Linked DNA regions of Homo sapiens: all the other regions are linked to region 2. Evidence: promoter capture Hi-C in 16 types of primary human blood cells and fetal thymus (Javierre and others, 2016). All regions are on one chromosome and are shown on one strand. Each heading gives the region's core, a stretch centred on a gene start or on the middle of the fragment in contact. The rest is flanking DNA. Distances are from core to core; before and after follow the strand shown.

What was found. The method cuts DNA at HindIII sites, captures the fragments that hold promoters and counts their contacts. A CHiCAGO score of 5 or more calls a contact.
Region 1: a fragment that was not itself captured here is called in contact with the fragment with the promoter of ADAMTS6 in region 2 in 1 of 17 cell types (endothelial precursors); the score reaches 6.4 in endothelial precursors.
Region 3: a fragment that was not itself captured here is called in contact with the fragment with the promoter of ADAMTS6 in region 2 in 11 of 17 cell types (activated CD4 T cells, M0 macrophages, total B cells and 8 more); the score reaches 10.4 in activated CD4 T cells.
Region 4: a contact is called between a fragment that was not itself captured here and the fragment with the promoter of ADAMTS6 in region 2, in 3 of 17 cell types (endothelial precursors, M0 macrophages and total CD8 T cells). The highest score is 8.5, in endothelial precursors.
Region 5: a fragment that was not itself captured here is called in contact with the fragment with the promoter of ADAMTS6 in region 2 in 1 of 17 cell types (endothelial precursors); the score reaches 6.5 in endothelial precursors.
Region 6: a fragment that was not itself captured here is called in contact with the fragment with the promoter of ADAMTS6 in region 2 in 16 of 17 cell types (naive CD8 T cells, megakaryocytes, total CD8 T cells and 13 more); the score reaches 18.5 in naive CD8 T cells.
Region 7: a contact is called between a fragment that was not itself captured here and the fragment with the promoter of ADAMTS6 in region 2, in 1 of 17 cell types (endothelial precursors). The highest score is 9.4, in endothelial precursors.

What each region holds. Positions count from the first base shown.
Region 1 is chr5:65,151,540-65,155,866 of GRCh38, forward strand. It overlaps ADAMTS6 (ADAM metallopeptidase with thrombospondin type 1 motif 6), which reads right to left. Exons shown (of 25, transcript NM_197941.4): 25 at 1-406. The coding sequence ends at 297. Among named protein-coding and RNA genes, the nearest start is that of ADAMTS6, 330 kb to the right of the region's middle. The HindIII fragment of the contact is 1,974 bases long and covers 957-2,930 here.
Region 2 is chr5:65,480,010-65,484,085 of GRCh38, forward strand. It overlaps ADAMTS6 (ADAM metallopeptidase with thrombospondin type 1 motif 6), which reads right to left and starts at 1,911. Exons shown (of 25, transcript NM_197941.4): 1 at 1,334-1,911. RefSeq lists enhancers at 1,664-2,023, 1,791-2,290, 2,064-2,113. The HindIII fragment of the contact is 619 bases long and covers 1,720-2,338 here.
Region 3 is chr5:65,068,260-65,071,993 of GRCh38, forward strand. The region is part of intron 2 of LOC107986419 (a long non-coding RNA gene); the gene reads left to right. Among named protein-coding and RNA genes, the nearest start is that of CWC27, 300 kb to the left of the region's middle. The HindIII fragment of the contact is 1,697 bases long and covers 908-2,604 here.
Region 4 is chr5:65,130,056-65,133,776 of GRCh38, forward strand. No RefSeq gene overlaps it. Among named protein-coding and RNA genes, the nearest start is that of ADAMTS6, 350 kb to the right of the region's middle. The HindIII fragment of the contact is 5,026 bases long and covers 1-3,721 here.
Region 5 is chr5:65,179,768-65,183,859 of GRCh38, forward strand. The region is part of intron 22 of ADAMTS6 (ADAM metallopeptidase with thrombospondin type 1 motif 6); the gene reads right to left. Among named protein-coding and RNA genes, the nearest start is that of ADAMTS6, 300 kb to the right of the region's middle. The HindIII fragment of the contact is 439 bases long and covers 1,769-2,207 here.
Region 6 is chr5:65,105,843-65,109,917 of GRCh38, forward strand. No RefSeq gene overlaps it. Among named protein-coding and RNA genes, the nearest start is that of CWC27, 340 kb to the left of the region's middle. The HindIII fragment of the contact is 5,582 bases long and covers 1-4,075 here.
Region 7 is chr5:65,197,418-65,201,350 of GRCh38, forward strand. The region is part of intron 20 of ADAMTS6 (ADAM metallopeptidase with thrombospondin type 1 motif 6); the gene reads right to left. Among named protein-coding and RNA genes, the nearest start is that of ADAMTS6, 280 kb to the right of the region's middle. The HindIII fragment of the contact is 8,501 bases long and covers 1-3,933 here.

The DNA.
Region 1 (4,327 bases), core at 694-3,193, 330 kb before region 2:
GGATTTACTCGAAAGAACACAAACGCTCCACAGTAAGCAAGTCTCCCTGTGTTGTTTGGATCTCTCCAATCTGGCATTCCCTCCTAATACCGTGTCCAGCACTTTGGATCAATAAATCCCACTTCACAGAAGCTAAAATAATATTGAAATTTTGTCAGCTAGGGCTGACCAGTGGTTACGTTTTCCACAGGGTAATGCATTTGCAAGGACATCAATCCTCTTCCTCTGGGTGGCTCTCTTTGATGGATGCATTTCCATGATGAAATGACAAGGCACTCTCTCTGGCTTTCTGTGGGTCAGTGTCCTTGGCAGGTCTTACAACACATCTGTCTGAAGTATGCTCGACTGCAGAACTTGAACTTCAGCACCAGTGGGCAATAAGCCACTTTATTCACATCTTTGCACTCTAACGAATGGGGGCAGAAAATGGAAAACAATTAGAGGCACATAAACAAGTACATAAACAAGCCGATGGGCCTGCATGTTCAGCAAGGACCCCCTTTGGGCCAATCCACCTTGGCTTCGACCTCCATGTGGTTTTTGTTTTTGTTTTTAAGCATACCCTGCCTGGTACAGTCTACTAGAAATATTCTTTTGATATATTTTAACACAATTTAAAAAAATGTTTGCAAGGCTTTCCTTCCAGATTTTTATAAGTATGGTGTATGCCCACTGTGTCTTGAAAGAATTACCATTTGCTAGGATAAGTGATCACTTTAGACAGCTTGGAAACATGAGTCATTTTTCTTACAGCACTTTTATTGCTTCTTTCTCAAGGGTTATTTTATTCAACAGTGCAAGGTTATCCAAAATCAAACATGAGTTGCATTGTTTGATACCAAAGTACACGTCTCCAGAGAATCTCTGCATCTGTGAGGCGTGGGGATGGGCCTGGGTGAATGAAAAGGATTGCTGAGAGTGGCCTAGATTCAGCAACTACACTAGACAAAGAAGAAAGCTTTGAGGGGTTGGCCTCAAATGGCAGCAGTCTGTGGGTTATGGAAACATGTAGAAATGTCTTTTTTTAATTTGGAAGTGAGACATGGTCTTCTTTTTTCCTATGTGTATTTTCTCCTCAGTGCTAGAACTGCCACAGTTGCAGTCTGCAGTTCTTGCAGCCAGAAGGTGAATAAATGATTCTTTCTCCATCTCCCCTTGAGGCTGGTTGCAGAAGGTGGGATGAGGGTCCAGTGTAGAGAAAGGGACATGGGCCTTTGATTCTCAGAACTCCCCCTGGCTCCATACAACCCCACTGCTAGCAATAATATTCTTTTCCAGTATTCTGGTCACTTTTGTTTGGAGACTTTAGGATACTCTGTAAACTTAGTAATGAAATTTTCACATGCCTGCTAGAACCAAAGTTCCACCCTCATTTTTCCAGGTAGTTATACTGAAGCATCCTGGGTAAATTGTTGAAGGTAATTAGGAATCAGGCTGGGCAGTGGGTAATGTTCAGTGTTACAGACAGTTTTTGTTGTTTGCTTGTTTTTTCCTGGCTTCAAAAACCCACTGAAGTTCTAAGAGATCAGATACATTGTAGTTTATCACATGAGCCATATGATAAACATGGAAAATTAAGTACAAAGACATGGAAAAGTTCCCAGTTCTTATTATTGAATATGAAGATAACAATCTTATTGATCTCAATTTTTAAAGGCTCCTTTGGTGAAAGTCTTAAAATTTGAAACTGGAACTCCCAAATCCACTGAAAACATCTCTGCCACCACCCAGCTCCCTTACTCAACATTTCACTTACAAAGAGATTAATAGCTAGAAATATGAATTAAAACTTTTCACACCAGGATTCTCAGTAAATTTAAGTTTTAGCTGGAAGAAGGTAGAAGAGGGACAAATCACTTAACCTCTTTGTGCTTAAGTTTTCTCATCTGTAAAACAGAAATGATTAGAGAACCCACACTCAACGTGTAACATGTAAGACTACACGTGTATCCTTACGAACGTCAACTACAGCAGTGCCTGGAACACAGGAAGTATGGGATAAGTGTAGGATACTGAATTGCTATTATTATTACAATTATTAGTTATTAGTATCTTTATTGCCTGACAGAAAGGAAGCAAGGAGTTACTCTCCAAATATCTCAATGAGGATGCAATATTTGAACTACTACTAAGAAAATACTGCCCTAAAGACACAAGTCAGTTTGCAGACAAAACAAAGTGGAGTATTTCCTGGGGAACAACTTCATTAGATTTACTACTCCATTTTTAGAAGAGTAGCTGGACCAAGAAAACTCTGAGTTGAGCAAATTAGAAGTAAATTCACCAGTTTAAATTATAATACATAATGAATGAAATAGAATATTCATAAATTGCTTCTCCCTTCACCTGCCTACCCACCCACCCATTAAGGCTATTATAAATAGTTGGCCGGGCACAGTGGCTCACGTTTGTAATCTCAGCACTTTGGGAGGCTGAGGTGGGTGGATCACCTGAGGTCAGGAGCATGAGACCAGCCTAGCCAACATGGTGAAACCGCATTTATACTAAAAATACAAAAATTAGCCAGGTGTGGTGGCACACACCTGTAGTCCCAGCTACTCAGGAGGCTGAGACACAAGAATCACTTGAACCCGGGAGGCGGAGGTTGCAGTGAGCTGAGATTGTGCTACTTCACTCCAGCCTGGGCGACAGAGCTAGACTCCGTCTCAAAAAACAAACAAACAAACAAAAAACTCAAATATGAATAGTCAGGGATTTTGTTCCTTAGATGAGTGCTAGAAATAAGACTCTTCTCTACATGCAGAGGCCCAGAACACAGCCTTTTGTTCAGAGGCAGTATCTAGCCTGTGGGCAGGCTGGAGGCCAGCTATCAGGATGTTCCTTTCTGAACTTCCCAATACCCTTGTTAAGTTAGTTCCCACTTAACTTGATTGGAAGCAGGAAGTCCGTAGGTTCTGGGAACAGGATCAAGCTTAGGGACGTTGGGATTATGAGTGTCCCCTGAGTTGCCTGCAGCGGCAACACAACCCAGTAGTTAGGGGCAGGAGATCTGGATTCAGGTGGGCCTGGGGGTGAATTCTGGCTCTGCCTCTTCTAGGAGTTGATTGTCCTCTGCCAAGTTACTTCACCTCTCTAAATCTCAGATACTTCATCTCCAAAATAAAGACTATGATAAGGTCTGCTCATAGGATGTTGTGAGGTTTGCATGAGGTAATACAGATAATGCATGTGCCATGGCACCTGGCTCAGAGTAAGCATTGTTCATTAGTTCTCATTATTAACAGCAAAACATCTGCCTCTGAGAACAACTATCATGTATTATTTCTCTGGGATCCCTGTCAAAATAAATATAGTCTCAGAAAGGGTTACACATTTACGCATTTAAGCAAAATATCAGAAAGCTATTAAACAGAAAGCAAGAAAATTATGATGAGGGCAGGAGTGGGGAAAGACCTGTGGGAGATCTGGAGACTTCAGGACTCAAACATTAATATGGAGATTCCTAGGCTGTATGGAAGATCCGGTTCCTACTTCTTGGTTTTGCCTTCTAGGAACTGGCCTGACTAGAAGAATCAGTTCATTACATCTTTAGATTTGATGAAAATCTATTCACCAACCACGACTCATCTTTTATTCTCTTTTAACTCCACAAGAGCTTAATTTAGTAGTGACAGCATTAAAAATTATAATTTATCAAGCATATCATTTGTGTAAGGCACAACATAAACATATATTATATATATATGTTAATCCTTTTAAGTTCAGTCATGTGTTGCTCAATGATGGGGATATTCTCTGAGAAATGCATTGTTAGGTGATTTTGTCAATGTGCAAACATCTTAGAGTGTACTTTCACAAACCTAGATGGTATAGCCTATTGTACACCTGGGCTACATGGTATAGCCTATTGCTCCTGGGCTACAAACCTGCACAGCATATTACTATACTGAATATTGTAGGCAGTTGGAACACAGTGGTAAGTATTTGTGTATCTAAATATATAACATAGAAAAGATCCAGTAAAAATATAGTATTATAATCTTATAGGACCACCTTTGTATATGTAGTCTGTTGTTGACCAAAACATCATTATACAGTCCATGACCGTATATAAAATGTCAGCTTTATATAGACAGCAAAACATAAGCTCAAAAAGATTATGAAACTCATGCTGGGTCACACAGCTAGTTGGTCTAAGAACAGGTTTATCTGACTCCAGAGCCATTCTATTTCAGCAATATTCTTAGCATCTAAACGCAAGAAGTTTCTACCTGTCTCTGACTCTGTATTCTTGGCTGACAACACTGATAAATCAACTTGGAGCATCATAGTCAGGTTTCGTTTCTTTAAGAGTTTGCTGTTCCAC
Region 2 (4,076 bases), core at 661-3,160:
TACCACTTTGCTGCAACACAAGAAAACAATTATCTCCAAAATTAATTTTCTTAATTTCTTTCAACTACACCAATTTTGTGTTACGTTTCTTTTCCTGTCATGAATTCTGAAAACTGTCATCCCCACATCTAAACATTTCAGTCTAATCAACAGAAACTAAAAAGAAAGAAAAAAGAACAGAAAATTAGTCCACGACACTTGAACATAAAAAGAACATGTTGAAAATCACACTCAAGTGTCTCTTTTAAAGTTCCAAGCAATGGTTCAGTTTCCCTTTTTCTCTCTGCTCTGCACACCCTCACCTCCCCCCGCCCCCACCATTCCACTTCGCCCAGACAGAGGGTAACAGTCTGAGCTGCCCTGGTTGAGTTGATCCTAAAGTTAACATTCAGCAGCCCATTTCCAGACAGCAGCGCTAAATCTATTTGGATAAAACGCGTGTGACCCAGACAGTTGGCATCTGGCCCAAACGCGTTGCACCGGCAGCTCAAATAAAAACAAGAGTAAGAAACTCACTCTCTTGTTCCCTCTCAGTGCGCTTTCTCAATCTCTCGCTCACTTTTCCTCTAGTACAGGGAAAGAAAGCATCAAAGACAGGAATTGTAGCACATATTATCAGAAAGAGGCTTCCCAATACCCCATTCCTGCACTCTCACTCTCCCTCCTCAATCCCTGAACTTTGGTCCCATACACCATATATACAGACCTACCCCGATAAACAAGGCTCCGGAGGGTTATGAGTCTAGCACGTCCCAAGTGGCCAAAAGTAAATCAAAAACACACGTTTCCATCTCTTTGATTAGCCTATTAAGAGCTTAACATGTCCTAGAGCATCGGGGCTACAGCTAGCACATTAATGCTACCCTCTGAGCCCAGGCATAAAATATGCACTTGTCTGAAGACTTAACGACACTGACATGAAACTACAAAATGCATAAGACTTTTCTGTAAGAAAACTGGAAATCAATTTAAAACACACACATCATTATTACCTTCCGGATTACTATTTGGTGATCAGTTAAAAGATTACAATAATCATAATCAAGTCCACTTCACAAAACATGTATTGTATATTCATAAAATAAACGTATTTTTTTTGCATCATAAAATAACTGCAAGTCCCAGAATTCTACAACCCCCGACAAGTCTGGAGTTAAAAAGATATCTATTTGTAAAATGAGTTCAGTCAAGCTCACTCATTGCCATTAAAAAAAAAAAAAAAAACACACACACAGAAAAAAAGTTTTCTAAGCGTTATTCGGAAGACAAGCAAAGCACAAGTTGTTGGTTTAAAAAAAAAAAGCTCCATTGAATATTGTTAAGTCTTCCTTACCGTTTTCATCTTCAAATTCTGATAAAAAGTAAGTTTCAGACAATAGAGATTGCACTGGACGACTCACGTACTCCCTCTCCTCTCTAACTTTTTTTAATTTTTTTTATTTTTTTATTTTTTGCCCCCCTTTGCAAAGCCACACCAGCCAGTTATTCTGCAGCCAGAATAAAACCCTATGGTCTGGCTAACCCGGGCTTTAGAGAACTGACTTTCCGATTTGGCAGAATAAGAGATGCCTTCAATACATCTAGGCTATCACTCTGAGATGCTGCCTTTGCAAACCCCCTTTCTCTCCCTCCCCACCCCCCAAAAAAGGAAAGGAAAAGAAAGAAAAGACGGGAAAAAAGACTTATTGGGGGTGGAAGTGGTGCCCTCTCTTCCTGGAAAGCTTAGTGCCTTTGCTATGCAAATAACATGTGCAGAGCATCAAAAGGTATCAGGAGAAAAGAAGACAAGAGGAGCAGGAAGGGCAGCAAAGTTTTGTTGAAGTAGCCCTAGATCTCACTACCGGCCCCCAGCCAACTTGAATTGCAGCAGGAGAAAATTTTGGCAGCTTTTCCTCGGAGGCAGAGCACACTGACGTCAGTCTGCAGATGTGCCTGGGCTGCGTCGGGTGCGCATGTGTCCTGGGTCGTCACGTGGAGGGGGAGGGGAGGTAGAGGTACAATCGGGGTAACCAACTACCAGCCATTCAGAAGGGCTTAGACAATGTCAACTTTTCCACACTGTGAATGAGAGAAATTCTGGCCTCTCTAACCTCTCTGTCCTATCTCATTCCGCCTCTTTTCCTCCTCCTCCTCTAAACTCTCTTAGAAATTCTAGCCTGGTTTGCTATTAGTTGTTTCTTGGAAAAATGAAGGGGGAGGGAGAAGGATGAATGACTTTAGATGGACTAATGTCACTGTTAAGATCTCTGGTGTCATTCTCCGTGTAATTTTATTTTTAAAATCCACACAATCAAAATGTTAAAACTTGCACGCAAACAGTGCCTCTGAGGAAACTTAAAGCTTAGATTCGTGCAGCAGGCACAAGACTCAGTAGCTACAAGTGTACAAAATGCCTGTGTTTTATACATACTTCAGCAAGTAAGGTTAGCACCAAAAGGGAAAGTAAACTAAAGTAAACTAATACCAGCACATTTTCCATTTGATTATCGACTTCAGGTTATGTGGAGCTTTAAAAGAAGAAGAAGAAGAAAAAAAAAAAGTAGGGGAGGAGGGAGCGGGGGAAGGAAGAGAGAAGCTTGCATTATTTCCAGATGAGGGTGAGACTGGATGGTGTTTTAAAGTGCAACCGGGAAAAGCCACAAGTGGAGTGTATTTTTTTAAGTCAGTCCATTGAATGAAACTTCAATGACTGCCCAAATGAAAATAAATCCGAAGTAGGACCCCACCACCAAAAAAAAAAAGGAAGGGAAAAAAACAGGAACCCTGCTGCGATCTCAAGATAAACAAACAAAACCTCAAAACTGGTTCTTCAACCTTCCCAATCCCACCCTCCCTCCCCCCTACACACAAGCTGCCAGTCCAGACTTTAAGGATAAAATACCGCTACAATGTAGCACTTTCACTTTCATTTGCTGAGAATGAAAGCCGCTGGGGAGAAAATGCCCAGTGTTTTCCATGTCCTAAGCAAGCAAACAAAGTCTGGCACATACATCGGAAACAGGAAAAAATGTGAAAATAGCTCAGGACAAATGTTGCCTTTCAACGGTGTAATCTGCTGCATCATTTATCTGTCTCTACCATTGAGTGTAGAATAGGGAGCTGTTTAAGAGTTTCCGAGGTTGGGGGCAGGGGAAAATTGACGCCTTGAAATTCCAGCCCTTAGTTAATGCCAAGTCAATTTCCGATGGTGAGAACCAGAAAGGAGAACTGGACCGGAGGGAAGGGGGTAGGAAGGATGATCTTTCTGAATACCAGCTCTTAAATATCAAGCTTCTGCTAACATTATTGCCCATTTGATTTTTTTTTTTCTTCCTACGCCGGAGGTAGTAGGTGTAATTCTTCTGGTGAATCTATGAATAGTTGGCTAAAAGGAGGCATGAATCAGACTGAGAACGTCCAAGAATACAGTTATTTCAATTCTTCTTCAAGGGTTGAAAGTGGAAAGCATCTGTCCACAGAGTAAATAGTCCTCATCCTGACCTTAATCAGTAGTATCTGGCTAAAAGCCATTTAAAATGTAGAAATCTGTTCAATAGTGGGCATTGAGTTTTAAATAAAGATGATTCATATGTATGTATGTATGTGTGCGTATTTGTATGTGTATATATATGTGTGTACATATATGTGAAATACATGAGGTAGCAAAATATAGCAATAATTGTAAACACCAAAAATAAGAAAAGTAGGCATCAAATGACTATTTAAATAGTGTTGAACCTTAACCTTCCTTAATTTTTCAAGTACTGGCAGTAAATAGGGACAGCCAGCACACACACAAAAAATAAAGGTATGAGCAGTAAACATCTATATAAGCTCTGAAAAGATTTTACCCTCAACTAAGATAAACTGCCCTACAAAGTAGCAGCTTGTAGAGGAGCTTACTTAGTGGGAGTGGACTTTGGCTAATTACTTATTCAAAGAGTGCCATCCTGTGTCTAAACAGAGTAATGAAATTTTTCCAACAGATTCTGTCTCCAAGTTGATTGGGTCAAGAATACTGTGAATAATTGGTGAAAATTGATTAGGGTGGGAAATGGCGAACTGTCAATTTAACTTTATATATGTGTATATATATG
Region 3 (3,734 bases), core at 506-3,005, 410 kb before region 2:
AGATGTATGCAAAGCTGTATAAGCAAAGACATTCACCACAAAGTTATTTTTTATTGGAAATAAAGGTACAACAATAGAAGACTGTTTAAACAAATTATCCATGTGATATAAACATAAACAATCATGTTATGGAAAAAATATCTAACTCATTGGAGAAAGTTCATAGTAAACTACAAGTGAAAAAGAAGATGACAAAGCAATATGCATCAAATGTACGTTCATATGGAATGACATCAAAATGTTAACCCAGGCTGGACAGTCTTGGGGACACCTGGAAATAATATAGCTAAGCTTTGAGAAGGGGGTTAAGGAACTGATACTGATGTGACCTCATTGACAGCTGTAGGCAGGTGATACTTAGGGGCATTTGAATATTAGAATTTTTACATGCGCTTTTATTGTGGAAGTAAGTAGCTTTCTATGTGTCATTACCCAGCTGAGGAAGGGATAGCATGGACATTTTCTGCTGCTCCTAGCCCAGTGGTGGTTTGGACAGGATCTATATAAGACTCCCTCTTGTCCTCCATTTGAATCTCTTTCCTTAAGTCAAGTGAGAGAAACTTGACTTCAGTATCATGCAGTGAGGTCCCTGTGTCCTCAACAGTAAAGCATTGCCATCTGCTTCCTAACATTACAGTGCTCCTGGGTAACCCCTGAAACTGTCTACATGTCCATATGATCCTGCAACGTAGAGATTTATTAGGATACTGTAAATAAAACTTGGATAAACAGAAGCAAGAAATGAGAGACCCCAAGGGCCAAAAAAGAAAAAAAGAAAGAAAGAAAGAAACGACGTAAGAAAAATAGACCTGCTTCATCAGCTTCTCTGTCAAACAGATATGGCCCATGATTTATTAAAATAGGAGCTTTTTCAAGGCATGATTACAGGCAAGAGAAACCTGAATAAAGCTTTTACTTAACAGTGTCTTTGTGTGCACTGGGGGAAATGTTTCTGTTGGACTTTTCTATTTGGACATCCTGTGGGCTCCCCAAGCTCAATGCTTTTGAAGTAGGGATCATTCACTTCTTTTTCTGAGCATTACTCTTTAGACAGCACCTAAATAGAAGTGACAGGTCAAACAATATGGATGACTAAAATCTCTGCAGTGAGGAGAGATTAGGGAAGAAGACCAAGCATAGACCTTTGGGACAGGCCCACATTTGAGGGAGAGGAAGACAGAAAGGAAATACAAAGAGATCATCCAAGAAGTCAGAGTATGAATGAGTCTTTTCTGTGTTAAACAGTATAAACATCATTTTCTTTAAGGTGAAAATTTTAGTCAAAAATATAGTTTGAAGACAACATAGTTTTGTGTGATGCTAATGGATCTTTGCCTAGGGCTAAAATAATCCAGATGTACTGGATAAAACAAAGTAGAACTATACTTAAATATTTCCAAGAGCTCAACTATTTCACTCTCCTGAAAACCTTAAAAAAATCCTTCTCAAGGAGGTAAGTAAATAATTACAGGCATATAAAGGAGAGCCAAAATCTTGAAAGTATCAAGAAAAATCTACAAATGAGTATACCTTAAAAGGGTGCTACTTTCTTGATAAACCAAAAAATTCTCATTCTTAAAGATTACATTGACATTTTTGCTTGAAAATACAGTATTAAAAGGTGGGTGCTAATGTGGGTTGACTTTTGTTTCCTAGGACTAACGGTTGTCTGGCTCACTCTGCACTGAAGTAACCAAAGGGCTGGCTTATTCAGCAGCAATGCTGGGAGCATCCTTGGGACTAGAAGATTGAAAACTGTTACCTCTGTGGTCTCTGAGGCTGGGTTCAGACTAGAGCAATTGTGCAGTGAATTTGGCCCATCTTGGGGACTTTGGCTCTCAAATGGCAGGGACTGTTCAGACTAAACTAGAGGTTATTTTACAAGGACCATCAAAATTCTCATTTGCATGTGTGAAATTCCTGTGGAGAGGCTGGCTTTTTCAATCAAGCTGGTTGGGCCAGATTATAAGTGGAGTCTGCTAGAGTGCATGTGAACAGCATCAGACAGCTCTCAGCCCTTCCCCGTTGGTCTTTCCCTTCTCTGGTGGAAATCACCAACAGTTTAGTGACACCTAGCACCTTCTATTCCCCAAGTGGAGAAGTGGTCTTCTAGCTAACAGGAAGACATCAGGCTTTCTTAAAACAAATTTTTATCAGCAGCTACCACCACCACAATGATGTTCATTGAGCACTTATATTGTGCTAAGTGTATTACATCCGTCATCTCTTTAGAGCCTCACAATCCTCTATGAAGTTTGATATTTTTTATTTATTTATTTATTTATTTCGAGATGGAGTCTTGTTCTGTCGCCCAGGCTGGAGTGTGGTAGCACAATCTCAGCTCACAACAACCTCCGCCTCCTGGGTTCAAGTGATTCTCATGCCTCAGCCTCCCAAGTAGCTGGGATTACAGGCACCTGCCACCACGCCTGGCTAATTTTTGTATTTTTAGTAGAGACAGGGTTTCACTGTGTTGGCCAGGCTGGTCTCGAACTCCTGACCTCAAGTGATCCGCCTGCCTCAGCTTCCCAAAATGCTGGGATTACAGGCGTGAGCCACTGTGCCCGGGCGATATTTTCATCGCTTTTTTTTTTTAAAGGAGAAAGCTTAGTCTCCATTAAGGTTAACTTATCCCAGGTCACACAGGTTGAAGGAAATGGATTTGGATGCAGATAGTTTAAATTGCACACCCATACTTTTTAAGCCTTTTTACATGATGCCATGTTGCTTCCCTATTAGTAGGCTGGCCTCCACTGGCAATTAATAGCAACAATGAACACTGGGCTCAAAACCAAAAGCCTGGGCAATATGGAGCAAACCATAAATTTGATTAGGAATCAGTTACCTGTGTCATTTTTGTCTTATAATGGAGTTGTGTGGTTCACAGGAGCCCTACCACTTCTGGATGGTGTCATAATTCTCACAAAATCTGGACCTTATGGCAGAAGCCCTGCCCCATCCCTTTATTTTCCATGGTATCCCTTTATTTGATTCCAGCTGCTCTGGGATTCAGAGCTTTCTCCATAGAGGCTTGGGAGGGGGAAGAAAGCAACCTATAAATAAACTCCGAATTCAGGCTGTTGGGGACAGTGCCCATAGCGTTGCAGGTGCACAGTCCAACCCCAACCACTGTTTCCAGTACAACTCTAGGGATTGTGAAGAAAATGGGCCAATTATTCTTCAGCTTGGACATTCTTCTGAGGCCAGGACACCCTCGGTCTGGGAGCTGTGTGATTCAGGTCTCTAATGTCTTTTTCAGGGAGGGAGGCAGCACAGTAGTTAAAAATTTCCCAGCTCTCAGTCCCTCCAGATCATCTTCCACATGTGAAGAGGGGGTGTCCTGCACTCATCACCTGGACAGCAGTCTGGCAACCGCTGGCCAAAGTGGTTTATAACATCTGGATTATTGTTTCCAGATGTGGCATTGAAATACTTGATTAAAAGTTTCACACACAGCATCTTGTAATAACTGACATATGCACAGAGAGTTTCTATCATCTGGAGCCAGGGTGGAAGCAGCAGGGACACTCAGAAGATGAGAGAGAGCAAGGACAGTTTGCAGGATCTAAGCGGCCTGAGAAAACCGTGAGGCTGAGTTTCTACTGGGTCCTCATTAAAGTCAAGCAAATGGAGCTGAGCCTGGTGGAAGTCAAGTAGACTGGACAGAGCAAGGCCTCAGACAGATGTGCATTCAAACACCAACTCCACCAATCACCAGCTGGGATTTCTGTGAG
Region 4 (3,721 bases), core at 1,052-3,551, 350 kb before region 2:
TTCTGGAGGTTGGGAAGTCCAAGATCATCAAGGCACCAACAGATCCTGGCGAGGGCCCTCTTGCTAAATGGCAGTCCTTTCTGTGTCCTCACAAAGCAGAAGAGGGCAAATAAGCTCCCTCAGGCATTTTTTAAAAGGACACAAATCCCATTCAAGAGAGTGGACCTAATCACCTCTCAAAGGCTCCACCTCTTAATACCATCACATTGAGGATTAGGTCTCAACATATGAATTTGGGGCCTGGGATCCATAAGCATTCAGACTGCAGCAAAGACATCTTCATGCCAAATATTCTCTGATCCAAGACCTTGTTCTTGAATGTTGTCTCCTTACCGTGGTATTTTTATGTGTTCATTCTCTAGTTTATCTGTGTCCATTACTCTGGGGTTTTGAACACAGTCTCCAAATACAGCATGAGGCTGGGCCTGGTGGCTCATACCTATAATCCCAGCACTTTAGGAGGCCAAGGTGGATGGGTTACTTGAGCTCAGGGGTTTGAAACCAGCCTGGGCAACATAACAAGACCTTGTCTCTATTAAAAATTTAAAAAAAAATTAACCAAGCATGGTGGTACGCACATGTATTCCCAGCTCTTCAGGAGGCTGAGATTGGAGGATTGATTGAACCTGGGAGATCAAGGCTGCAGTGAGCTATGATCATGCCACTGCACTCCAGCCTGGCTGACAGAGCAGGGCCCTGTCTCAAAACAAACAAGCAAAATCAAATCTAGCATGAGTGAAGAGTTGAGAAGTACTGCTTTGCTGGAAAGGAAATATCTAGGTTTCCTCTCTTAACATTTTTCTAATATTTGTATGTATTTGGAAAATACCTATTCCTGGAAGTATTTTGTCTGTAATTACCATACAGAAAAGAAGACCTCATTAATGTTGCCTTTCTTGTACTATCTAAACACTATTTGATGCCAGAATATATACACATATTCTGAAAAATATACTACTTAGAAGAGATGAAGCCCCTGCCATTTCCTAAATAAATAGATTATTTAATTATTAGGAAGATTAGTGAGAGGGCTCAGCAGTTTGTTTTCATTGTTTTGCTCTCCTTTACTAAACTACAGTATTAGTCCTGCACATGACTTATATCCTATTTTGATGTTTTAATTCAAGGACCATATATTGAGTGACCATTATGTGCAAGATGTTGTGTCAGACACATTTCGATGTTGTATTTAAGTGATAGTTTGAGGAGCTTCTGCTTTACTGGCTGTGTACTGTCCCCATTGCTTATGAGATAAGGGCTAAGATTTTTCATCTGACCTGCAAGGTTCTTGACGGTTAGCTAAGGTTATTAGAATTGCAAATAGAAGTGAATTCAAATCTAGTGTGAGTTTAAAAAAGAGAACGTGGTATAAGAATTTAGGAGGGCCTCATGGAATAGCAGCGAAAGAGCCATGATTAACAAGGGACTGAACTCAGACTCTGCGATGCTGTCTGGAACAAAGGCAGCCACTCTCTCTGTGGGGCCAGACAGACTCTCTTCTTTGGCTGTCTCTCTGTGGCTGCTTTCTCTCCAATTTATTTTTTTATTAATTTTTTTTTTTGAGGCAGGATCTCGGCTCTGTTGCTGAGGCTGGAGTGCAGTGGTACCATCATGCCTCACTGCAGCCTTGACCTCCCAGGCTCAAACGATCCTCCCACCTCAGTCTCCCACATAGCTGGGACCACAGGCATGCACCACCATACCCAGCTAATTTTTTTTCTTTTTTGTGGAGATAGGGTCTTGCTTTGTTGCCCAGGCTGGTCTTGAACTCCTGGACTCAAGTGATCCTTCCCGCTTGGCCTTCCAAAGTGCTGGGATTACAGTCATGAGCCACTGCGCCTGGCCTCCTCTCTATTTAAATCAGCATCCTCTGTGCCTCCACACACATGGCAGATGTCCACCCCACAGAACACAAGTGTATGTGTCCTGCAGGTGCAGCCATACACATAGATGGGCTGCATCCTTGAATCCCAATTCCACATTCCCAGGGAAATTCCACTGGCTCATCTACACCAAGGTTCCACGCGATTAGCTGCAGGTGAAGTGGAAGGCCAAGCCCGTACATTGACAAGGATGGTGGGACAGGACCACCTTGAGATCTACAATAAGCCAGGGTAATGGTGGAATAGCCCTGGGGCACCCACAACCTTACATCTGACACATAGAATGTCATTCGAGCCTCAAGTCAACACACAGGGTAGGGAAGTATGAACTCCACTTTACCTAGAGGGAACTGAAGCCAGTGATGTACAGACAGGTTGCAGAAGCAGGGGTAGGACTCAGCTCTTATGATCCCTCATCCAGTGCTCTTTCTGCCAGTGTCACCTTGGCCCTCTGGTTAACCGTGCTTGGAAGATTCTTCTCAAGACAGGGCCACTGTGCTTCCGAGGGAACTGTAGCCAGGTTTCTGAGGCACAGGGCTTGGAATATAATCTTGTGTAATATTCCAAGGAACAGATGTAAACAACTGTGATCATCCCGGAGCAATACCATCCAAACCCATCTCCCTGGAGGACTCTGCCCATCAACAACAATCTTGTCATTTTGGCCAGCTGGTGCGCCATATTCACTATGCCATGTCTCTAAGGACTGGCAACTCCTCCTGGCTTTGTATTTTATCCTCTTTGCTGGCTTCTAGTGAATTTTTAAAAAACTGAGTATTTTGCCTCTTCAGTTAAACTAGTTGGCTTCCATTTAATTTTTTTTAAAAAAATTCAATATATTGATTTTTCCTTTTACTGATGATCTCTTTGGCAACCATGCTTGTAGAGAAGCCATTTAGTTTTCTGGTTAAGTTGGACTAGCGTTTCAAACTGTCCCAGACTAGCAGCCCCTGTGGGCACTTCCAGGGGTTCTGAGCCATGCGCTCATTTTCAGAGATGGGGCTGGGCCGAGCCAGCCAAGTGTGGAACCTGTTGTTCACACCTGTGTTAGCCAGTGCCTCAGATGGCCAACAGAGCCCTGAGGGGTGAGTCTCTCCCATTTGCCAGGCTCGGCGTTGCCTGTGGGGCCCAATGGGGAGAGCAGAGGTGTCTAGTGTCTATCCGCTCCCTCCAGCAGAGGACACTGGGGAAGTGGAGCCACACTCACCTCCTGCTTGGCTGTTTCCCTGCCCCTTTTTGGAAAGGTCTCCATTTCACATTGCCAATCGTTTGCCAACTTAAGTTCCAAGCCAAAGCCATGTTGGGCCTTTGAATTTTTGGATGTTTGGCAGGTGACATTTGTATCAGAAGAGTCCCGTGGAAGAGGCAAGAGGCCTAAAACATGCGTCCCTTGGTTGCAAGGCAGGAAACCTAATTCTGGGGCTGTTTGCACCCTACAACCATGGAAGAGCTGACTCACACCTCCATAACTCAACCTCTCCTCCTCAAAGATGGGGATGATGTGGTCAGTCAGAACTTTCTGAGGCCACTGGACACATTCAGAAAGTGTGTTCAAGAGTACCTTGGCCTGTGGGATAAAAAGCTCTCTGATCATAAACAAGCATGATTACTTATCATTTTGTTACAACTTCTCAACCAGGCCAGACTTGGACTGCTGGCTGAATCCCATTTCTCTCCTCTTGGACTGAGTGCCTGAACTATTCAGATCCAATGTGTCCTTCCCTCCTGACAGCCTGCCAGGTCTCCAGTGATATTTATTGACCAGCCTGGTGCATGGGGCACACCATTGGCAGCTTAGACTACAAACTCCCCCAGCACGGATTGTTTCTCACTCTGTG
Region 5 (4,092 bases), core at 738-3,237, 300 kb before region 2:
TGTTAAAAGTACCATATAAGTGGATGTAGAACACATAAATTATCGTGTCCCTAACACCATCAGCCTGTTTTATAATTATGTATTTACATGTCTTTTCATCTCTATTAGATTATAAGCTCCTTAAAATTACTCCATTTGTTTCATCTTTGCATGCTTGTGTGCATGCAAACACACACATGTGCACGCACGCGCACACACACACACACACACACACATCCCCCAGGAGCCAGCTGAGGACTCTGAGTAAACACTTGATAAATATATGCTCTTCTTTATCTGGAAAGGTGACAATTTTGATTTACCATTAGGTAAATCAAGATGTACTAGTTGTGGATGAGGCTATCTAGGTGAACACCGTGCACATGTACACACATGGATTTTGTTAGGGGCAATCTTTGAGCCTGGAGTATGTCATAGAAAGACAGAAAAATATTAACAAATTTTTCAGATGAACATCAATGATTCAATGCAAACTCTTTATCACAATGAATATAATCACAGAATGCATTTCCTCCAACTTAGAAAAGGTTTCATTAAGATGCATTTTGAAAGGGGATAACACAATTTTTTCAGTGTAGCTCGAGAAGAGGCTTTAGTTAGGGAGTGAAGATCAAGAGAGAAATTCCTGATTCCTTTTATTCCTTTTCATAGCCAAATCAATATCCTCATAACCTGGTGCTGCCTCACTCTACCCCTACAATCCATCACTAGATCTTATTAATCCAACTCCAAAATCTGTCTCACACCTGTTGATTTCTCTCCATCTCTACTGCCACTAACCTTACTTCAGACAAACATCATTTCCCATATGAAATTTTGTAATGGCTTTCTAGTAGGTCTCCTGTTTCCTCCTCTTGCCTCACTCAAATCCACTCCCTAAACTTTAGTCAGAGGGATCTTTCTAAAGCACAAATCCAATTATACTGCATTTTGATTTAAAAAAAAAATCCCTTAATGGCTTACTATTGCCTTCAAGATAAAAATTCAAACTCTATATATGCTTAGTACCCCACAGTAGTAAGGCTCTACTTACCTCTTGAGGCTCATCTCTCTATATGTCAGCCATATAAAATAATTTCCAATATTCTCCAGTGCTAGCCCAGTGTCAGGCACAAAGCAAATAGTGTTGCTGTTGCAGCTACAGTAACTACTACTACTACTGCCACTAATAGCATCTGTCATTTAATAAATACTGTATATACCAAGTGTGCTAAATGCTATAATTTATATAGTCCTTACAACTCTCCTATGAGGTGGCAATTATTATTCTGTTTTTAAAATGAGAAAACAAACTTAGAGTGACTGGTAAAAAGTCACATATATATTAAATGGTGGAGCCATTCTAATACTAATTCTTACTAAGTGTTTTCTGGATGTCAGGCACTGTACTATGTACTTTATATGTATTGTCTAATTTAATACAACAATCACTTATATTTCAAGAAACCAAGGCATGCAATAATTTCTGTAGAATGAATAAAGACCTAATCCAAGTCTTTGAGCTTGCCTCACTTGTGTCGAGTCCATTTCTATCTCTTGAACTTGTTCCACTTGTTTTAATCCTCTTCGCTTCATGCCAAGTCTCCTCCACTGTTCAAACCAAAGACTTAAGAGGATTTCTGCCACTCTCTTAAAGCTTAATATTATCACTGGTAACAAAAACACTACTATACTACTTTACATTTCATTAAAGATGAACAGTTCAGAAAATATTTTCAAATATTAAACATTATTAAACAAATTTTTAAGAATTATTATAGATGAGGAAAGCTTAAGAGACTTCATTAAGGATAAACAGCAAATGGTAAAGCTGGAACTAAATCCTAGGCCTTGTGACCCATACTTTAGGGCCTACTCATTATCCATTTCTCTGTTATTATTGTATTCACAGGCTGCTCTTAGTATTGGCAGAAACAAACTCATGACAATACATAGTAAATATGAATTATTGTAAGAATAAGTTGAGGTGAAGTCCAAGAGGATACAAGGCCACTTCATCCACATGCTAGGCAAAAACATATAGGATGTATACGGAACTCAGTTTTTGTATTTCGAGGCTATGATTAGTTTTCTAACGGAAGCATTCATTGAAAAATGCACTTGTGCCACTCCCCTGCCTCCTTCACATTTTAAAATCATGTGTATGCATATTAAAGTCTGGGACATACATCTCTTGTTTATTCTAATAACTTTTTCCAGTGGCAAGAAGCTTCTGTTATTATTTTAAGAATGTAGTAGTATCTAGCTGCCTTTCCTAAAATCATATGCCAGGTCGTGCTTACAATTAGGGGAGATGAAGAATGCGAAGAAAGACAATTCATTCATCTCCATCTGAGAAGTCCCCAGGAAACCCAAACCAAAACCAAACCAGATATGACTGATAATAAGAAGGATAAGCCTGGGTGCGGTGGCTCACGCCTGTGAATCCCAGCACTTTGGGAGGCTGAGGTGGGTGGATCATGAGGTCAGGAGTTTGAGACCACAGCCTGGCCAACATAGCAAAACCCTGTCTCTACTAAAAATACAAAAAAAAATTAGCCAGGTGTGGTGGCACGTGCCTGTACTCCTAGCTATTTGGTAGGAAGAGAATTGCTTGAACCCAGGAGGCAGAGACTGCAGTGAATCGAGACCGTGCCACTACACTCCAGCCTGGGTGACAGAGCGAGACTCCATCTCAAAAAAAAAAAAAAAAAAAAAGAAGGATGAGAAGACATAGCAGCACAATATTTATTGTGTCAAGTAGTGTTCTAAATCCTTGGCATGTAATAATCTACCTAATCCTCATAGAAACTCCATGAAGTGAGTACTGTTACATATCCATTTTACAGGTGTGGAAACTGAAATGCTAAGAGGTAGAAACAAATCCTGATGGCAGTTTCCTACTAAAAATAAAGCTCTGAAAGATACATGCACAAAGACTAACCCTCTGTAGAACAATGTGCAGTTATGTGTAAAGCTAAACACATAATGACATTTACTTAGGCAAGAAATCATTTTAGAAAAATTACACCTCAAAATTCACCATTTTAGCCAAGGATATTTTATCTTATAGTAACAGAGGTACAGAGATTTTCAACCATATTTTCAAGAAAATGACTGAAAATCAACCAGATTTTCAAGACAGTGAATGACTGAAAACTACATTGCTGTCACATTTGTTACTCAGTGAATACACTACACCTGAACCCTGCAGATCCAGCCACAAATATTACATGTCTACAGCCAGAGTCTCAACTCTGTTCTCTGCAAATATTGTACTTCTTACAGGTGATTATAAAATTAAATGTTTAAAAATTGCTTGTAAAAATAGTAAAGGCACAGAAATGCCACTTTAACCTGGTTCATTTAAGTAGAACTCTAGCAAGTCCTTCTGACCTTATGTCAGAGATGTTCAAGCAGAGAAGTCCTCAGTTTGTTTTTATATTTACTTATTCCTTCTGCTTTCTTGAGCCTAAATTTCATTTTTCCCTCTTTACCCTACTGATAAATACAGAATCCCTTCCTTATCCACAGTTTCATTTTCCAGTTTCAGTTGCCAACAATCAACTGAAGTCTGAAAATAGATGAGTACAGTATAGAAAGATATTTTGAAAGAGACGTTACATTCACGGAACTCTTTTTACAGTATGCTGTTATAATATTTTAATTTTATTATTATTATTGTTAATCTCTTATTGTGCCTAATTTATAAATTAAACTTTATTATAGGTTTGTATAGATAGGAAAAAAGTATATAGTATATATAAGGTTCAGTACTATCTGCAGTTTCAGGTATCGACTGGGGGTCTTGGAACATGTCCCCTGTGGATAAGGGGGGACTACTATCAATGTGTTTGTCCATCTGAAGTCCTCTGTTTTACTTAGCTATGTAAAAGATAAAAATAAAAATAAAAAAATAAAAATTTCTAGAAAAGCAAGATGAGCCACGGTTACGTATGTATAGACATGTATGTTATGTAATGTATAGACATTAATTTAATTATGAATGCTTCGGAGCAGTCTCCAGAGATAATCATTAGCCTATACCCATGCAAAGAGTATGTTTTTGCGTAACTTTTGAGTGTGCATTAAAATCTATTAGTAATAATTAGA
Region 6 (4,075 bases), core at 443-2,942, 370 kb before region 2:
CCAGCCAATCCCAGCATTTCCTGGGAACTTGTATTCTGAATCTATTCTGAATCAGAGACAAAATGTCTCCTTTAGTTAGAAGCTGTAGAGATGTGATCTCAGAGCCACCAACAGGCCATGTACCCTACCAGGCCTGAAAGATGAACAGCAAACTTTCCAAGATGCACAGAGATGAGGGCAAAAGTAGAAAAGGGGTCCTGGCAGCACTCCATTCCCCCATCCATCCCTTGCTGGCCAGCAGCTCCCTTGTCTTTCTGTGATTCAGTTACTGAAACCAAGAAGTTTCTCATTTTTAATTGAACTTTTTGAGGTGGTTTCTGTCTCCTTGAAACAATTCTGATTAATAAATCAAATCTGTCTCATCCAGGCCACTGAAAGCCTTCTAACTGATTTCTGCAAACAACCTCACACCCTTTTATGCCATTCTCTGGTGCAGCACCATGACCTTTCTAGAACTCAGTCTTATCAAGATACTCCCGACCCAAACACCCAGATTTATTTCCAAGGCTTATGAGGCCCCTCACATCCTCACTCCTGCTTGCTTCTTTTCCCCATCTCTTGCATTCCCTGCTCTAGTATTCCTGAATGTCCTTCAGGTCCTCAGGGGCAGTGCTCTCTCTCCTTTAGGCCTTTGTACATAGTGTTCATTCTGCCTAGTTTCTCTTCTCCAGCTAATTGCAACTTGCCCTTAAAGTCAAAGTGGGAATGTTACATTGTCAGAGAGGCTTCCTCTGACTCCTAATCTGGGTTAGCTATTCTGTATTTCATTGATTACAACACTGCTTTTCACACATCTTAACGTATCTACTTGTGAAATACCTTACCTATCCCCACTAGTCTATAAATCCCTAAGAGCAAGTCCATGTCATAGCATCATAGAACTTAATACTTTGCTGGACATAATGAATTAATGATACCAGCTACCACCTATTCTCAAATGTGTATTTCCCCGTTGGGTTCCACATATATACAGGTGTCCTTCTGTATTTGTGGGGGATTGGTTCCACCACCTCCTGTGGATACCAAAATCTTTAAATGCTCAAGTTTCTAATATAAAATGGTGTACCATTTGAATATAACCCACGTACATCCTCCCATATGCTTTGAATCATCTCTAGATTACTTATAATACCTAATATAATCTAAATGCTATTTAAGTAGTTGTTATACTGTATTGTTTAGAGAATAATGACAAGGAAAAAAGTCTATACATGTTCAGTACAGATGCAATTTTTTTCTAATATTTTCAACCTGTGGTTGGTGAATCCAGGGATGTGGAACCTATGGATACAGAGAGCTGATTATATTTCTGACTGTATCCCAAACTGCTCCTCTTCCTGTGGTCCTTATCCTCCAAGGAGCACAATCTAGAAGCCTAGAGTCACTTTTTTTTTTTTTTTAGACAGTCTTGTTCTGTTGCCCAGGCTGAAGTGCAGTGGTGCCATCTCAGCTCACTGCAACCTCCACCTCCTGGGTTCAAGCAATTCTCCTGCCTCAGCCTCCTGAGTAGCTGGGATTAGAGGCGTGTGCCACCACACCCAGCTAATTTTTGTATTTTTATTAGAGATGGGGCTTCCCCATGTTGGATAGGCTGGTCTCAAACTTCTGACCTCAAATGATCCTCCTGCCTCAGCCTCCCAAAGTGCTAGGTTTAGAGGTGTGAGCCACCACGCCCAACCCTAGAGTTACTTTTTGATGCCTCCTTTCTCTCCTCCAATATCCGTTCGATCAATAACATTTGTCAGTTACACTTCTAGTCTCCATCTATGCCAATCCTGTTGGTATAGAAGTGCTAGCCTCCAAACTTGTTACCTTGATGAACTGCCTCTCACTTTAATCCATTCTGCCCATTCAGCCAGTTATCTTTCTAGAAATGCAAAGCTGACTGCATTCCTTTTCTTAAAGTTCTTAAGTGATATACTCAAGATGGAGTACTCTGTAATGATCTGGCCCCAACTGACATTTTCCAGCTCACCTTCTGCCCCTTCTGGACATGCCCTGACCAAGTTACCTCAATGTTGTGTTCCTGATACAATATCATGTCATTATCTTCCATACTTTTGTCTCTTTGCATATGTAATTCCTTTTGCATAGAATGTGTTTCCCTTGTCAGCCTGGCTGGCTTAAGACAATTGAGATCTAGGAAATTTGCCATAACTTCCTCCGGCAGGTTTGAGGTAGTTTTCTCTTATTTTCCCATACTGGCCAATCTATAGAAATTATGATAATAATGTATTACATGTATACTATACGCTAGTCCCTCTGAGGCTAATTATTAGTCTATGTAGATTGGCATCTCAGTAAAGAAATTGAGCTGAAGAGAGGTTAAGTGACTTCCTGAAGTCTTCATGGTTAATCCCTTTCCAGTGTCAGGTATCAAACCTAGGTCTCATGGCCCAATGGTGCGATCTCGGCTCACCTCAACCTCCGCCTCCCTGGTTCAAGCAATTCTCCTGCCTCAGCCTCCTGAGTAGCTGGGATTACAGGCATGCACTGCCACGCCCAGCTAATTTTGTATTTTTAGTAGAGACAGGGTTTCTCCATGTTGGTCAGGCTGGTCTCCAACTCCTGACCTCAGGTGATCCACCCGCCTCGGCCTCCCAAAGTGCTGGGATTACAGGCGTGAGCCACCGTACCCAGCCTAATCATCTATGTCTTTTTACCAATTTACCTTCATTCTGGGACACACTCTTAATGAATAGAAAGTCAGGTGGAATCACTGACTGTTGTAATTTTAAGTATGCTATTTGTCTAGGCTTTTTTTGTTTACCATATAATGAATCACCTTTATTGAAAATAATACAATTAAGTAAAATCAGATTGTTTCAAGAAGTTTGGAATACACAGTTTCTATACCTGTGTAAGTCACCCTAATTTGATTTGCAGCAAAATCTTCCTTTAACTTTGCAAGGTCAATTTTATAATGTATAACAACAGGCATTGAGGATAAAAATATCATTCTTATCTTTTAATTTTCTTTCTGAATCTAGATTTTAGTTTTTTTCCTCCCCCAAAAATCACCATTTTAACCATTTAAAAGAGTGCAATTCAGTGGCTTTTAGTACATTCACAGGATTTTGTAACTATCATCATGATCTAATTCTGGAATTTTCATCACCCACAAAAGAAATTCTGTACCTATTAATCAGTCACTCCCCATTCTACCCTCCTTCCAGCCTGGCAACCACTAATCTGCTTTCTGTCTCTATTGCTTTGCCTATTCTGAACATTTCATATAAATGGAATCATACAATATGTGGCCCTTGTGTCTGGCTTCTTTCACTTAGCATAATATTTTCAAGGTTCATCCATACTTTATTCTTTTTTTATGGCTGAGCAATATTCCATTGTATGGATATACTACATTTTGGGTATTCATTCATCTGTTGATGAACACTAAGGTAGTTTCCACTTTGTGGCTATAACGAGTAATGCTATTATAAACAAGCATGCACAAGTTTTTGTTGGAACACCTGTTTTTAATTCTCTTAGGTATATACCTAGGAGCAGAATTGCTGGGTCATATAATTCCATGTTTAACTTTTTGAGGAACTGCCAAACTATTTTCCGTAGCGGCTGTACCATTTTACATTCCCACCAGTAATGTATGAGGATTCCAATTTTTCCACATCTTCATCAACACTCAATTTCCATTTTATTATTATTGCCATCTTAGTAAGTGTGAAGTGGTGACTCATTTTGTGTGTGTGTTTGATTTCCCTAATGACTAAGGATGTTGAGCATCTTTTCATGTGCTTATTTATCATTTGTATATTTTCTTTGGAGAAATATCTGTTAAATCCTTGACAGTTCTTTAATTGGGTTGTTCATCTTTTTGTTGTTGAGTTGTAAGTGTTTATGTATTCTAAATACTAGACTCTTATCAAATATGTAATTGCAAATATTTTCTCCAATTCTGTGGAGTGTCTTTTTACTTTCATGGTAGAGTCCTTTGATGTATGAACGACTTTCATTTTTATAAAGTCCAATTTATCTATTTTTCCTGTTTTTGGTGTCATATCTAAAAATCCATTGCTAAATCCAAGGTTGTGAAGATTTCCCGTATGTTTTATTC
Region 7 (3,933 bases), core at 1,282-3,781, 280 kb before region 2:
TGTAAATTCTTCTTCGTGCTTCCCTTAACAAACAAACAAAACAACAGATTACAATTTCCCAAAATAATATTATCAAATAAAATGTACAAATATGCATTTCAATGCAAAACAATGATTGTATATTTATTTAAAAATAGAACAATAGGGACAAATTTACTTTTTGATATTTTGTAGAACAAATCCCATCTATTTAGTTTTTGTTAGGAATACATCACATCCACACATTTCATTTTTTCTTCCGTTTATATATTTATCTCTCTAAAAGCCCATTCATTGTTTAGAAATTAGAGATTGCAGTGGGCCTCTTTTGGACTGTAACCAACTAGTCTGTTTATTCGAACAGAGTTGACCCCTGTTGATTATACCACTGTCAAATACATACATACACAGTTCATTCAAATATTAATTTATCTCATTTTAAAAAATTAGTCTATGTGATATGTTTACCACAGCTAAAAATATTCTCATACAGTTTATAAAATATTAAATATATGTCAATTATTGGCAAAGATATTCACCATAACTTGCTCACATTTCACAAAATATAAAGACACACACAAACACACACTCGTATTTGTAAATGTTCCTGATGAACAGATTTTATGTATACTCATTTTCTCTTTAGTGTCAAGGAAACAAAAGAAGCAGACAGGTATATCAAGATATCAAAGAGAAACACGTCAAACTACAAGACAATGCTAAATGTTTCAGATCATATAGCGGTAACAGGTTACTCCTGGCAATAGAAATAAAAGCACACACTAAGCTATTCCCCCACTCACCCACCCCATCTCTATAAACAGGTAGGCTAAATTACCCAGAAAGAGTTGTAAAAGCAGCATTAGCAGTATCCAGGAAACCACAGCTTCACACCTAGCTAATCCCACACAATCCTTCAGTTGTTTTTCTTTTTTTTTTCCCAGTTGTTTCAAGTAATAATGCCCTAAAAAAACAGTGTGATCACAAATTAGGGAAATATATGTGAAACAGGATCATTCAGTGAAAGAAACTGTCACCTAAAGAGCTACACACCAAATGCTTCCCCCAAGTTCCCCTAAATCATAGAAATTCTGCAGGTGGGAGTGCCTCCGTTATCATGTTATGCACACCTACCTTTAACTAAGCCCTTTAAATTTAAAGACTGACAGGGCAAACTATTAAATCCACCAAGCTCATGACACTTAAATCCTGTAGCTTCCATGACAGTGGTGAGCAGTTAGTCTTTTTTATTGCTTGCACTGACCCAGGGCTCTTGCTGATCACCTTCTGCAACCATTTTTTATGTTTTCCTAAACTTAGGGGTCTTAAACATAGTCAAACAACTTACTGGCAAAATGTCCTAGAGTATGTATTGTATTCCTTCCCTCCCAACCCCTAAAATAAGCCAAACAATGAAGTTTATGTGACGACAACAGTTTGGAATTTTTTAACTATTAAACTTTAGAATTTTTGAGGGAAGAATGATTCACATCAGGCATAGTTGTGATCCATTCACAGATGTTCCATGATATTCATCGGATATCTCCCCATTGTGTCATTCCAGTGGGCAGATAACTAGGTCCATGTGGTCCACCTAGACAGATACCTCTACCATTAGTCATAGGAGTCAACTACCAACTCCAACAGTGGCTCAGATTATCCATCCATCCTGGTTCAATATTTTGCCTCTATCAGGGACAGCAGGGGATTTTTTTTTATTGGTTAGTGTGATTATTTTTTTTTAAGTCATTCAAACATGACTATACTTGAAACAAGAACACTGGCATCCAAAACATATCTTGGTTATTTCTCAGGAAGGAATAAACATTCTCAACACTACAAAATACAACTGATCTGGTTTTGTTTCAGTGGCAGAAACATTAATTCAGTTTCCTTGACTTGTAGAAACTGAATTAAGTCAAGATAAAATTCTTCTTTCTCTAACTTAACCCTAGAAATGTTGTTTGGCTATAATTACATTTGTTTTCAAAAGTAGCCTTTATTGCAAAAGCAGGGCCTCTGCAATTTGAATCATAGATGAGATATGAGTTAGTAGAGCTGTGATTTATATTTCATTTTATGATAAATTCTAACAATGTATGTATCTTGAAAAAAATTTGGTACATAATATTTGTTATCAAAAATTTGGAAAATTACACAAAACCACAAGGAAGAAATAAAACTGACCCATAGTCCAATATTTTGTTTCAGACCCCTTTAATTTCAGGGCTATTTTGCTCTTTAGTGGGATCCAGTAATTAGTTTAAAAATTACATGTATACCCAAACTAAAACTGTCAGCTAAATGTAGTTGGCAGGTCATTCATTCATTTACTCATTCATTCATTCATTCAACAGAGATAGTTACTAAACCAAAGCATTGTGTTTATGAGATATAAACACAGTATCTCTTGGGAGATATTGGGCTAAGTGCTAAGAATTATGAATTGACTTAATTTTGATCATGCCTTCCTTCCATACTTCTTAAAAACTGGGAATCAAGAGTACTTAGGTGTTCATTTTAGCTTCATGATTTCAGAATGCTATTTTTTATGAAGTAAAAATTAAAGTCCTTGAATAGACAGCTGAAATTGCTCTATATTTTATGAAGATGCATGTTTTCCTTACATTTGTCTTTTATTAATTTTCTTCTAGAATGTTATATTAGACAGTGTGGTATTTCACACTCAAGAATTGACTATATCAGTAATCTATTCCAAATCTTCCTACAACACTGTACTATCTTCCTCCAACAGCATACAAAGCTCCTTCCAACTATTACTCCCACACTTGGCAGGTTTACAGATTTTTTTTTCTTTTTAAGTCAGTAGCAACAGGATAACTCTATAAACCAAGGCATCTAAATGAATGGATTTTTAAACACATACTTTTGAATTAAGGAAAATGCAGCTTTTAACTTTAGAAAGTAGAAAATACAGATCAACTGGAAATAATCTAAACTAAGTCCACAAGAGAAATGATTGAGTTTAGATTCTTTTTATATGATCAAGCCTCTTGTACATAACTTCTTTTAAAGTAGTCTGTAAAACATTGCTAAGATGTTGATTTTAAACCCGGTTGGGAATAATTACATCCAGTTACACGAAACCACGATGCTTTCAAATCTAAAGACTTATAGTTTATAACCAAAACATAAAATGTCCACATGACCAGTCAGTGTGTACCTAATCAAAAACAAAATTCTAGTGGCTTAGTGTCCAGATCCCCTGGAAATAAGCAGATGTTCTGCAGAATTTAATAAAAATACACTAATTGTATTTTATTCTTAAACACCTAAAGTTACTGGCATGCAAACTGTATGTATATGTTTTTTTAATGCAATCCTTCCTCCATGCTTAAAAAAAGTAATGGCTTCATATTACGAAAGTTAATTATAAGAGATGATATTGCCAATATATATTTACTTTAAACCCTCTACAAAAGGTATATTCTGTTTAGAGACTTTTAATTTGCTTATCTTTTTATTCTTTGATACTAAAGATTCAAATATGATGGTCCTTACCACAGAAATGTAACCCTCACTTTTTGTCCATAAGTTTAAATGTCAGATCCTATATTTAATTTTCTGCCAATAGTTCAAAGTTAAAGATCTATTTTCCCATCAAAGGTTCTTTTATACAATGGGAAGAAGGCATATTCCACTTGAATCACTGCTCTAGCTACATATCAAGAAATGGCTTTAATGGCATTTTTATACAGTATGTACCAAAGGAAAAGGTGCAAGAAGCCCATCAAATGGCAAATGAGTCCTGGATGGAAACCATCTGCTGTTCTTACTCTAGGGGGTGGTGATGGTTCAAGTGAGTCCCAGTCTGAGCAAAGAGTTCAGAGACCATCGCTCTTCTTCATTTCTTCCCTCCATTCCAGTCCCTCTACTCCTCTTATTAGCTGCCCAATGTTCTCATGTGTTCCTATCTTTCTCTTCTTTCAGAGA